Regions from separate parts of the Homo sapiens genome. Here region 2 is linked to region 1. The links are contacts of gene promoters, found by promoter capture Hi-C in blood cells and fetal thymus (Javierre and others, 2016). All regions are on one chromosome and are shown on one strand. Each heading gives the region's core, a stretch centred on a gene start or on the middle of the fragment in contact. The rest is flanking DNA. Distances are from core to core; before and after follow the strand shown. Region 1 holds the start of ATG13 (autophagy related 13). Region 2 holds the start of LOC124902669 (translation initiation factor IF-2-like).

Evidence for each region. Contacts are between HindIII fragments. The CHiCAGO score rates a contact against its expected background, and 5 or more counts as called.
Region 2: a contact is called between a fragment that was not itself captured here and the fragment with the promoter of ATG13 in region 1, in 1 of 17 cell types (naive CD4 T cells). The highest score is 5.6, in naive CD4 T cells.

What each region holds. Positions count from the first base shown.
Region 1 is chr11:46,614,957-46,620,551 of GRCh38, forward strand. ATG13 (autophagy related 13) reads left to right here and starts at 2,597. Exons shown (of 19, transcript NM_001346311.2): 1 at 2,597-2,934. It overlaps HARBI1 (harbinger transposase derived 1), which reads right to left and starts at 2,271. Exons shown (of 3, transcript NM_173811.4): 1 at 2,168-2,271; 2 at 612-1,425. The coding sequence starts at 1,281. RefSeq lists an enhancer at 2,404-2,583 and a silencer at 2,563-2,857. The HindIII fragment of the contact is 4,045 bases long and covers 2,457-5,595 here.
Region 2 is chr11:46,232,797-46,238,391 of GRCh38, forward strand. It overlaps LOC124902669 (translation initiation factor IF-2-like), which reads left to right and starts at 4,593. Exons shown (of 1, transcript XM_047427965.1): 1 at 4,593-5,595. The coding sequence starts at 5,043. RefSeq lists an enhancer at 4,458-4,507 and silencers at 5,093-5,142, 5,253-5,572. The HindIII fragment of the contact is 2,592 bases long and covers 1,398-3,989 here.

The DNA.
Region 1 (5,595 bases), core at 1,347-3,846:
GGCTAGAGTGCACTGGCGCGATCTTGGCTAACCGCAACCTCCGCCTCCCGGGTTCAAGCGATTCTCCTGCCTCAGCCTCCCGAGTAGCTGGGATTGCAGGCATGCGCTACTACGCCCGGCTAATTTTGTATTTTTAGTATAGACGGGGTTTCTCCATGTTGGTCAGGCTGGTCTTAAACTCCCAACCTCAGGTGATCTGCCTGCCTCGGCCTCCCAAAGTGCTAGGATAACAGGCATGAGCTACACGTGCGGTCCCTTTTCTTTCTTTCTTTTTTTTTTTTTGAGATGGAGTTTTTGCTCTGTTGCCCAGGTGGGGGTGCAATGGCGCCATCTCGGCTCACTGCAACCTCTGCCTTCTGGGTTCAAGCGATTGTCCTGCCTCAGCCTCCCGAGTAGCTGGAACTACAGGCGCCTGCCACCATGCCCAATTTTTGTATTTTTAGTAGAGACAAGATTTCACCATGTTGGCCAGGCTGGTCTCCAGCTCTTGACCTCAGGTGATCTACCGCCTCAGCCTCCCAAAGTGCTGGGGTTGTGTGAGCCACCGCCCCCAGCCTACATAACTTTTCTATGCCTCCAAACAAAATGAAAATTCACACTTGCAAACTTACCCAGAAGCCAGCTATCTTTGTGCATACCCGCTTCAAACTGACTACTGAGGGAAGACTGCTGCAGCACAGCACAGTCCTGTAGGCTGCCGGGCCAGTTTGTCTCCACGGTCATTAGTGTCCCTCTAATGTCACACACCATCAGGCAGTTTAAAGAATGCAGGCCTTTTCGGTTCACATAGGAGAGGTCTTCAGCATTTGGTGCCTTGATGGCCACATGGATACAGTCAACCACCCCCATCACCCCTGGCATCCCTGCCAACCCATAGAATTCATCCTTCAGAGCCTGAATGGAGGCTTCATCAGCTGGAAAGCGAATGAACTGTGAGGCCCTTTCCACAAGTGCTTCAGTGACATTGGCAACACAACGACTCATAGACGCCTGACTGATTCCAATGGCATCTCCCATCCGAGTCTGGAAGGAACCTGAGGTATAAAAACCCAATGCTGCAAGGACCTGTGTCTCTGGGCTAATAGCCCTGGATCGCTGAGTAGGCCTAGAAAGATTCGCCCCCAAGAGCTCCACCAAGTAATAAATGAACTGCCGTGGAAACCCATACATGGACATCAAGTATTCATCAGTCACATCATCCAGCTTAAAACGGTCCAATGTCCGGTGACCACGGCCATATAGCAAGAGGTCACAGTCAAGCACTGTTATTGGTATAGCCATGGTAAATGTGAATGTTGGCTCTCCTCTTTGCTTTTTCTGAACTGTTCCCAATGAAGATGTTGGTGCAAGAACGTATTTTTAAGAAAGTATCAGAATCCAACAGCTAACCACAGTTAAATGGCTCTGCCATTTATAATCTTCTCTCTGTAAATGTTAAAAGAAAAAACATTAGGAACCTACCAAAGACTTTAAAGTGACTCAAAGGCTGGAGCAGCTCCTTTTCTACAAATTTCCATTTTGTTGAGGCAAAACGTACTGTACTTACAACTCCGGATTTTTCTCCACTAACTCATGGCTGCACGACAGGCTTGCTCTGATTCAAGGATAATGGGAATTCAATCTTTGTGGCTCATTTAATGCTTGGCATTTCAATTGAGAACACCAAAAGAATAATGGAGGTGATGACATAATTATTCACAAGGTAAAAGAGGTCGGCTTCTAACTATATAGGCCAAGAAGCAGCTGACATATGTCATAACCACCTTGGGTAAGAATTGGTCACGGGTTTCATTATCCAAAGACTTCTGGTTTCACCTGACAAATACAGGACAGATGCTGGGGTGTTCAAACCAGTCTAACAAGAAAAGAAGGGGCAAAAAAAAAAAAAAAAAAAAAAAAAAAAAAACAACCAAAGTCCACAACCCAGCCTTATGGACGTACACTGTGTGCTGTAACAAAAGGCTTTTCCCTCACTCCAAGAACTCCAAATCGTGAACCTGAGGGCCAGGAAGTACGGAAGACCAGACACATTGGAAGTCGGGAGCGAAAAAGAGGCTGGCCGAACCAGGTTTGGGAAGCGACTCTGCCACTTTTAAAGGGCACCCTAAAAACGGATGTCAAAGTCTGATTGCGCCGGCCACTCAGTTAGCCCAGGCCCGTCACCCACCTCTCCGCGGCTGCCAGGTTACCAGCCACACTTCCCACCCACCCAGCCGGGTTGGGCCCTCCTCCGGAACCGGCGACTGCACAGAGGCCGCCACGGCGCGCAACAGCGGCACCGCCCCTTCCGCGTCAGCGCCCGCCCCGCGCCGCGCCCTCACTGCCGCTGCCGCGGCTACCTGCGGTTCATCTCCGCACATTCCACACGCGGCCCAAACGGTCTCTCTCTCTCTCTCTCAAACACCGCCTTTCCGTCTTTGTTTTATCTTGAGTAGCTTAGAAAGATTGGAGAAGAAAGCTTACGTGGAATGAAAATCAACTTTTATGGATATTTTGAGGACTAAAAGAATAAATAGGGCGTCCGTACTGTAGCGAAAGTGCGACTAAGGTTAGGCATCTGGATTTCCCCCGTAGCCCTCTTTCACCCCCCCCCCCCGGCCATTACCGAAGCGGATGAAAACAAACACTAACGATGGCGGCGCCGGGAAGCGACCGGCTGCTGGGCTTAAGGCGGGAGTGACCGCTTAACCAGTGAGGGAAGCACTGAAGAGCGCCAGTCGACGTGGGTGCGACAACTCGCGGAGTCTTAGGAGCAAAACGTCTGGGGCCTGCGAGCCAGGACCCTTCTGAAGCCTTAGGTGTCTATCGGCGACGTGTACGGTCACTGCAGCTCCGGAGCGCGGAACCCTCAGCCAGGAGGCGCGGCTGGTCGGTCCCAGGTCCCGGCCTCCGTAATGAGAGCCCGGAACCACTCTTTGTGCCGCAGCTTCGCAGGTACTAACTTTTGCGGGGGATACCCCAAGATCTCTCAGCGCCCCCGGGTGGGAGGCTGTGGATCTGCGGCCCCTTGGCTGCTGCTTCGTGGAAGTAGAAGGGATTAGCCACGGTTCAATCCCCTGGGCCCCTGAGTTTTCTGTGGGAAGTTGAGTTGGTCTAGGCCCCGTTGGCCCCTGCTTGTTTGGCAGAGAATCCCCTCCACCCCAGAGCTTTCCTCTCCACTTTTTCAGCTCCTTGGGTTAGGTCGTCAGGCGTTTTGGAGGTAATTTGGGGGGCCATAACTCCGGGGTTGGGTGCCAATATGAGTGAGGTAGGTTTTCATTCAATCAAGATTTGCTGAGTGCCAAATATGTACTCCGCGTGTAGGTGAGGGTGACTGTTGACTAGTGAAAAAAGGGACCCATGGTTCACGACTGTCTTCTTACTGGCAGTGGAACGACCTGTGGAAACCTGTGATCCATTCTCATTAAATAAATCTCTGGGTAAGTGGCTAAGCACCTTCTTGAGCTCATCACTAATTCTTCCCAGTTTTCACTTTTCCAGTGAGTTCCCAGTTAGCCTGGTCAATTCAGCGTAGCATTTCACTTTTGGTATTTCTTCGTTCTCTGGCCACCCCGCAGCCAAAAAGAAAAAAGAGATTTTAAAAAATTACCTATTTTCTCATTACACTTAGTTTAAAACTCATCTCCTAAGGTGATAGAATTTATTGGACACCTTTAGTGGGAGATGTATTATAATAAGAAACAACAAGCTCTTCCTTTACACTAAATTAGCTTCCAGATTTTGTGTGTTGTTTTATGACTGTTAGTCCTTTTCATGTGTGCATGTAGTGGCTCCAGCTCAATTATGAGGTTTTTTTTTTGTTGTTTTCAACTCTCCATTTATCAGCTCAGGAGAAGTCTTTTAGTTTTTTAGATTTTAAAATTTTTATTATTATTATTAGAGATAAGGTATTGCTGTGTTACCCAAGCTGGAGTACAGTGGCGCCTTCATAGCTAACTTTAATCTCAAACTCCTGGGCTCAGGGAATCCTCCCACCTCAGCCTTCTAAAGTGTTGGAGTTACATGCATAAGCCACAGAGTCCGGCCCAGGAGCTTAATCTCGAAGGAAGTTTACTTGAACTTTAGGTGTGGAATATTCGAAAGTAACTTCCAACATGGGGTGTGGAGCTAAGTAAGATGAATTTACATAAACCGTCATTTTTCCTGCATGTGCTTAGTGGAGGAGAGTGCATAGAGTTGCTGGTCATTGCTTCCTATCAAATTGTGGAAACCAATAAAAACTGAAAATATTCTGCGAGAGAATAGAGGTACTGTAGCCAGGAGGAATGCAAAGGAGGCTGCCCAGAGGGAATCAAACCTTTCTAAAGTTTGGGTTTTAAATATTTAAAAGGATTTTAAGTCCCTAAAGGGATTTAAAGGTTATTTTAAATAATTAGCTGATTTTTTTTTAATGTCCTTGGAAGGTAGATTTCTTGCTTTTTTTTTTTTTTTTTTTTTTTTTTTTTGAGACGGAGTTTCACTCTGGTTGCCCAGGCTAGAGTGCGGTGGCGGGAACTCGGCCCACTGCAACCTCTGCCTCCCGGGTTCAAGCGATTCTCCTGCCTCAGCCTCCTGAGTAGCTGGGATTACAGACATGTGCCAGCACGCCCAGCTAATTTTGTATTTTTAGTAAAGATGGGGTTTCTCCATGTTAGTTAGGCTGTTTGTTCTTGAACTCCCGACCTCAGGTTATCCACCCGCCTTGGCCTCCCAAAGTGCTGGGATTACAGACATGAGCCACCACTCCTGGCCGATTTCTTGCTTTTAACTGAAGAGTAAATGTGGGCCAGTTTATTAAAAATCCTCTGAAGGGGCCGGGCAGGGTGGCTTACACCTGTAATCCCAGCACTTTGGGGGGCCGAGGCAGGCGAATCATGAGGTCAGGAGTTCAAGACCAGCCTGGCCAACAAGGTGAAACCCCGTCTCTACTAAAAATACAAAAAGTTAGCTGGACGTAGTGTTGGGCGCCTGTAATCCCACCTACTCGGGTGGCTGAGGCAGGAGAATCGCTTGAACCCAGGAGGTGGAGGTTGCAGTGAGCCTAGATCACGCCATTGCACTCCAGCCCGGGAGACAGCGCCCCTCTGTCTCAAAAAAAAAAAAAAAAAATTCCTCTGAGGACCAATATAGGTTACATAGGCAATTTGTCTGTGTTTTTTGTTGTTGTTTTTTGCAATGGAGTTTCACTCTTGTTGCCCAGGCTGGAGGACAGTGGCATGATCTCGGCACACTGCAACAACCTCCCCCTCCTGAGTTCAAGCAATTCTCCTGCCTCAGCCTCCCAAGTAGCTGGGATTACAGGCGCCCGCCACCACGCCTGGCTAAGTTTTTGTATTTTTAGTGGAGATGAGGTTTCACCGAGTTGGCCAGGCTGGTCTCCAACTCCTGACCTCAGGTGATCCACCCGCCCTGGCCTCCCAAAGTGCTGGGATTACAGGCGTGAGCCACCGCGCCAGGCCTGGCAATCTCTCTTATCCTGGTATTTTTTTGTATGCCCTTGGTCATAAGAGAAGGGATGAGAATGTGAATTACCACTGCTTAGAAAAACAACTCAATTGGGCTGGGCGCGGTTGCTCACACCTGAAATCCCAGCACCTTGGGAGGCTGAGGCAGGCG
Region 2 (5,595 bases), core at 1,444-3,943, 380 kb before region 1:
GATTTAAAGTTGCAGATGGAGTTATGGTTGCTAAACAGATGACTTTAAAATAGGGAGATTATCCTGGGTTATCAGGGTAAGCCCAGTGCAATCACAAGGGTTCTTAAAAGTGGAAGAGGGAGAGGCTGGGCGAGGTGGCTCACGCCTATAATCCCAGCACTTTGGGAGGCTGAAGTGGGCAGATCATCTGAGGTCAGGAGTTCAAGACCAGCCTGGCCAACACAGTGAAACCCCATCTCTACTAAAAATACAAAAATTAGCTGGGTGTGGTGGCAGGCACCTGTAATCACAGCCACTTGGGAGGCTGAGGCAGAATTGCTTGAACCTGGGAGATGGAGGTGCAGTGAGCCAAGATCACACCACTGCACTCCAGCCTAGGCAACAGAGTGAGATTCCATCTCAAAAAAAAAAAAAAAAGTGGGAGAGTGAGGTAGAAAAGGAGAGTTGGAGTGATGTGATTGGAGGAAAAACTCAACCTATTGTTGCTGGTTTTGAAGACAGAGGAAGGGGCCACAAGCCAAGGAATGCAGGTGTCCCAGAAGCTGCAAAGCACAGGAAAACAGATTCTCACCTAGAGTCTCCAGGAGGGAACACAGTCCTGCAGATAACTTGATTTTAGCCCAGCAAGTCTCATTTCAGACTTTTGAACTGCGGAACTGTGAGATCATAGATTTATATTGTTTTAAGGCACTGAATTCATGGCAATTTGTTACAGCTGACACAGAAAACTAATAAAAACCTAAATGTCCACCAGTAGAGGACTGGTAAATAAATGCAGTGTAACACCCTGCGGCCTCAAAAAGAATGATGTAGCTTTATATAAATTTACATGGAATTAGTTCCAGGCTACATTAAGTGGGGGTAAAATGCAAACTATAAGAAGAATGTACATAGCATGTTAGCTGTATAAAAAGAGGCACAGTTTAAAACCTACATAGATCCTTTATGTATATCCATAGAATATCTTCGGAAAGATTCACCAGAACCTGGTAACATTTATTGCCACCAGGGGAAGAGAAATGGGTGACAAGGGTTTCCCATGGGAGAGATGTTTGTTTTTCACTGTGTCCCACTTCGTGCTGTTGTGGCTTTTGTTTCTGTTTTTGTTTTATCATGTTCAAGCATTGCTTTAAGAATTTAAAAAAAAAAGACAAAAAAATGTTTAAGGGAGGGAGTTGTGCTCAGTCTTAAATGAGTTTTTAGTGTTTGAATCAGTTTAATAAGTAATGATGGAGCCCCTTCCCTGTGTGGCACACTATCACCTACCTTTTCTCATTTAATCTTCCTTAGCAAACTTGATGGGTCAGTGTTCTTATGATACCCACGGTTGAGGCACTGAGTCACAGAGGGTTAGTGACCAAATTGCACAGCTAGTAAGTTTCACAGTTGGATTTCAAAGCTTGGTCTTCCAGCTCCAGTGTTGTTGCTGGTTCCCACAGCAGTAGGGGTCAGCTTAACCCTAGGACGCTACGACATGGAGTTGTCAAACAGCCATCTCTACTGCTTTTCCTGGCCCTTTTGTAGGTCTCTGAGTTGAGGAGAAGGTCAGCCTCCAGAGGGGCTTTCTGGGTTCAGCCCACCTTCTCCTGTTACATCTCTCAGCAAAGCTCCTTTCGGCCCTTCTGGGGAGAGGCGGCTGCCAGCGGTCACTGCGTTAATTGTTCTCTCTGGTGGGCTCACGTTGCAACAGACCCAGTGCAGCCACCTGCTTTCCTCCCGCGGAGCTGAAACCCTAGAGATGACAGGCCTCTGCCTAGTATTACATCTTGATCAAATAAGACTGCCCTGAGATTTATCATTCCTGCAAATGTCAGGCCGCAGGTGAAGGGGGTGCGTGCACAGAACGAGGACTTCCCTCTTGGGTTTTTCCCCTGCTTGTCGGTAACTTACAAGTCTGGGCGGACAAAATCCACCTTCCTGGGCCTCCCTGTCTGGCAGAATAGAGATCATGTTCCTGCGTGGTAGGGACAGATGTTGCTGGCCCATCTACCTTGGAGGAGCTATGTTTAAATATACTCAAACTGCCTTTCACGTTGAGGGTCACAAAGCATTTTCAAATGACTCATTAGTGAATTTCAATGTCTAGAAAAAGCAAGAATTATTATTTTCATTTTATAAATAGGTCAAAAGTCACACAATCAATGACAGATGTCGGAAACAGAGGTAAGAATTCTGCTTTTGTCTTCGGCTGCAGCCACTAAATCCCACCTCTAGTATCCCCGACAGACCTCCTTTCTGCTCTCCAACTTCTGGCCAAAGACTTGGAATTGGCCTTTATGTGTTTCTACTTAAAGGTTTGAATTCTATGTATGGTTCATATGCCTTTGATATTTCTGGAATTTATAAAAGAAAAGGAGAAGAATGATATTTGATGCTTTTCAGAGATCACGTTGGGACTGAGCCTTATATTGTGGGTCAAATGCCAGTAACGGGGAAAAAAATGGTCACCAGATCTTTAGAAGGTTCACTTTTATTCTCTCTCTGAAAGAATTTTGTCTGTTAAAATTAAGCAGAGTGTATCCTTAGTCACCAAAATGATTGTTGTAGGAATACTGAAAGTCACTGCTTATTGAGCACCAACTATGTGCCAAGCACTGCTCTACTTAACGCATCCACTGTATCGGGTGATTCTCACCAACACCCTAGGAGGTCTTTATCATTCATTGTATAGGTAATATAACTGGGTTCAGAGATAGAAGATGGGATGAGGAGAAAGGTGAGGGAAAGAAGAGAAAGTTCAAAGGAAATTAATTAAAAAGTATTGGGTATATAAAATGTGCCAGATGTGTTGTGTTATAATAGGTGTTGGAGATACAAAGATGAATAAAATATCACTCTCAAGGAGTTGATAGCCTTGTGGGACATTGAGGGTGACAGCTGAAGAGGCAAACATATAATAATAATAATAATAATAATAATAATAATAATAATAATAATGTCAATACAATTCAGTCCAGAAGTATTTATTGAGTTTCTGGTATGTGTTAGACACTGCACTAGTTGCAGTGGATAGTTCCTCTTCTCTTGGTGCTTACCATCTAATAAGAAAGTCAAACATTCATCAAATAATTATACATGTTTAAAATTGCAATTGAGTGCAATAAAAGACACCAGATGGGCCACAGCCTGACAGAGGATTAGTACTCAGAATATATAAAGAACTCCTACTCATAGTAAGAGATAATCTAACAGAAGCACTGTCAAATAAACCAATGAGCAACTTAAAAATGAGGAAATGGCCAACAAACAAATGAAAGTGTGCTCAGTCTCACCTGTTAACAGGGAATTGCAAATTAAAACACTGAAAGGCCATTTCACACCCATCAGCTTGGCAAAAATTTTGAAGTCTGACAATACCAAATGTTGTTGAGGATGCCAAGCATGGGAACTTCCATATATTGCTATCAGACTGTGAATGGTACAACCACTTTGAAAAAACTTTTAGTCATGCTGAGTAAAGCTGCCAGTTCCTCTGCCTTGAATCCAGCAATTCTGCACCCAAGTGGCTACTGGAAGACTTACTTTCACACAAGGGGATGGGTATAAAAAATACTAATCACAATATTGTTTCTAACAGAAAAAAAATTAAAAATAAGTTGAATGTCCTTCAGAAGGACATTGGTAAATAAAGTATGGTGAACTCATATAATGGGACCCAAATAGGAAGTGAAAATTGCATAATCTAGAACTACGTGTATCCATGTGAACACATTTCAAGATTATCCTGCTGGGTGAAAAAAGCAAGTTGCACAATTATATACCCAGTATAATGGTATTTCTTCAGAGTTTAAAAACATACCAAACAATTCTGTAAAGTGCTTACAGGCACAAATATATGTAGCAAAAATACAAAAGTATGCATAGGAATGGTAAAACTCAAAGGCAGAAAGTGATTACCATAGGGGAGGGACAGAAATGAGTTCAGAAGACTAGATCTGTGAGGTTTTATGTCCTTTAAAAAAGATCTGAAGAAAATAGAGCAAATGTTAAGCTTTGACAAAGACGTGGCTAGGGGAGGGGAAGGCACACAGAATAGTGATTAATTATATTATTCGCTATAGTTTTTTGGTATGCTTTAAATTTTTTTGAATTGCACTTTGACCTATTAAAGGCGAATTCCACTGAGTTGGGGGTGGGTGGGTCAGGGAAGGCTTCTCAGACGAATTGAGTCTTACTTAAGATGACAGCTGAAAATTGAGTAGAAGAGGAAGGGCGGCAAGGTGTTTCAGGCAGAGAAGCCTGCGCTAAGAGGCTGGACTGGGAAGGTGAGGTAGGGGCCAGGGACTGAGACCCCCTGTGTGGCCAGAGCAGGGGAAGAAAGGAGCTGATGTTGAGGGGAGGGGAGGCGAAGGGGGTGTGCACAGACCATGCAGGACCCCACAGGCCATCCTGAAGGCTCAAGCCTCTCCCCTAAATATGACAAAATCAGCAGGCGGCCCAGGGACACTTCACTCGGCCAGATAGCGGAACAGGGAGGGCGTTCTTGAAAAGGTGACTCACATCTTGAGTTCTGGAGGATGAGTAAGAGGAAGCCGGTAGGGGGAGGGGGAGAAGGGAGGAAGGGGAAAATTCTCTGGATAGGGCCTAACTGCAGCAAAGACCTGAGGACCTTCAAGAGTGTGGCCCCAGCGGGCTCCAGCCTCCGAGCCTAGCTCGGGAGGCGTGGTGTAGAAAATGGCAGACTAGGGCATCCATGAAGACCGGGCGGCCCCAAGCCGAGAGGCATGGCAAAACAGGGGTTGCAGGTGGCTGTTCTGGCAGAGCGAGGAGGATGGATTTGAAGAAGACAGGCATGCAGGGGAGACCTTTGAGGGGAATGTGTCAACAGCCAAGGGGGGCGGGGCGCCGGGGAGGTCTGGATGAAGTGGGAATGAGGATGGAGTGCAGAGTGCCTGGAGAAGTGTTCAGGAGGGAAGGCGAGGCATCGGGACGAGGGGCTGGGCGGTCGCGCCATCTCTGCGATAGACAATAATCGGGTCAACACGCGGCGAGTGGCGGTGCGCGCGGGGCCAACCGCGTGGAGCTGTCGGGAGGGCGATAGGATGGGCGCGCCCGGGCTGCAGGCGGGGAGCCGGAGGTGGGAGGTGCCTCTTGAGAGTGGCTCTCCACCGCTGACAGCAAACGAGCTGGTCCGGACGGAGGACAGAGGGGGAAGAAACGGAGGGAGTCGCTGGGGGACGGCGACGAGTGGGATCCGGGCGGGTGGGACTGGGCGCAAAGGACCGCGCCGACGCCGCATGGCTGCCGGGAATTCAGCTCCCCCGGCCAGGTTGAGCGGGCCCCGGGGCCCGGAGCGGGCGTCGGCATCTCCGGCCTCCCCGCGGGGCTGCAGGCAGGCGGCGCCCCGAGCGCACCCCGCGCGAGCAGGCGCGGAACAGCGGACCCAGGCCGGGCCTTCCCGCAGCTTTTCTGGCCGCCTCGGAGGGCAGGGTCCCAGCGCGGCCCGAGGCGCCTCTTGCCAGCGGCCCGACCTCCTGCCCTCCCGGCCCCCTCCAGGCTCCCCGCACGTGCAGGCCCGGCGACGTCACTGCGGCTCTGACGCGCTCTTGGAGGCCCGGGCGGAGGCGGCGCGGCGCGGGCTTCCTCCGGGAGGTC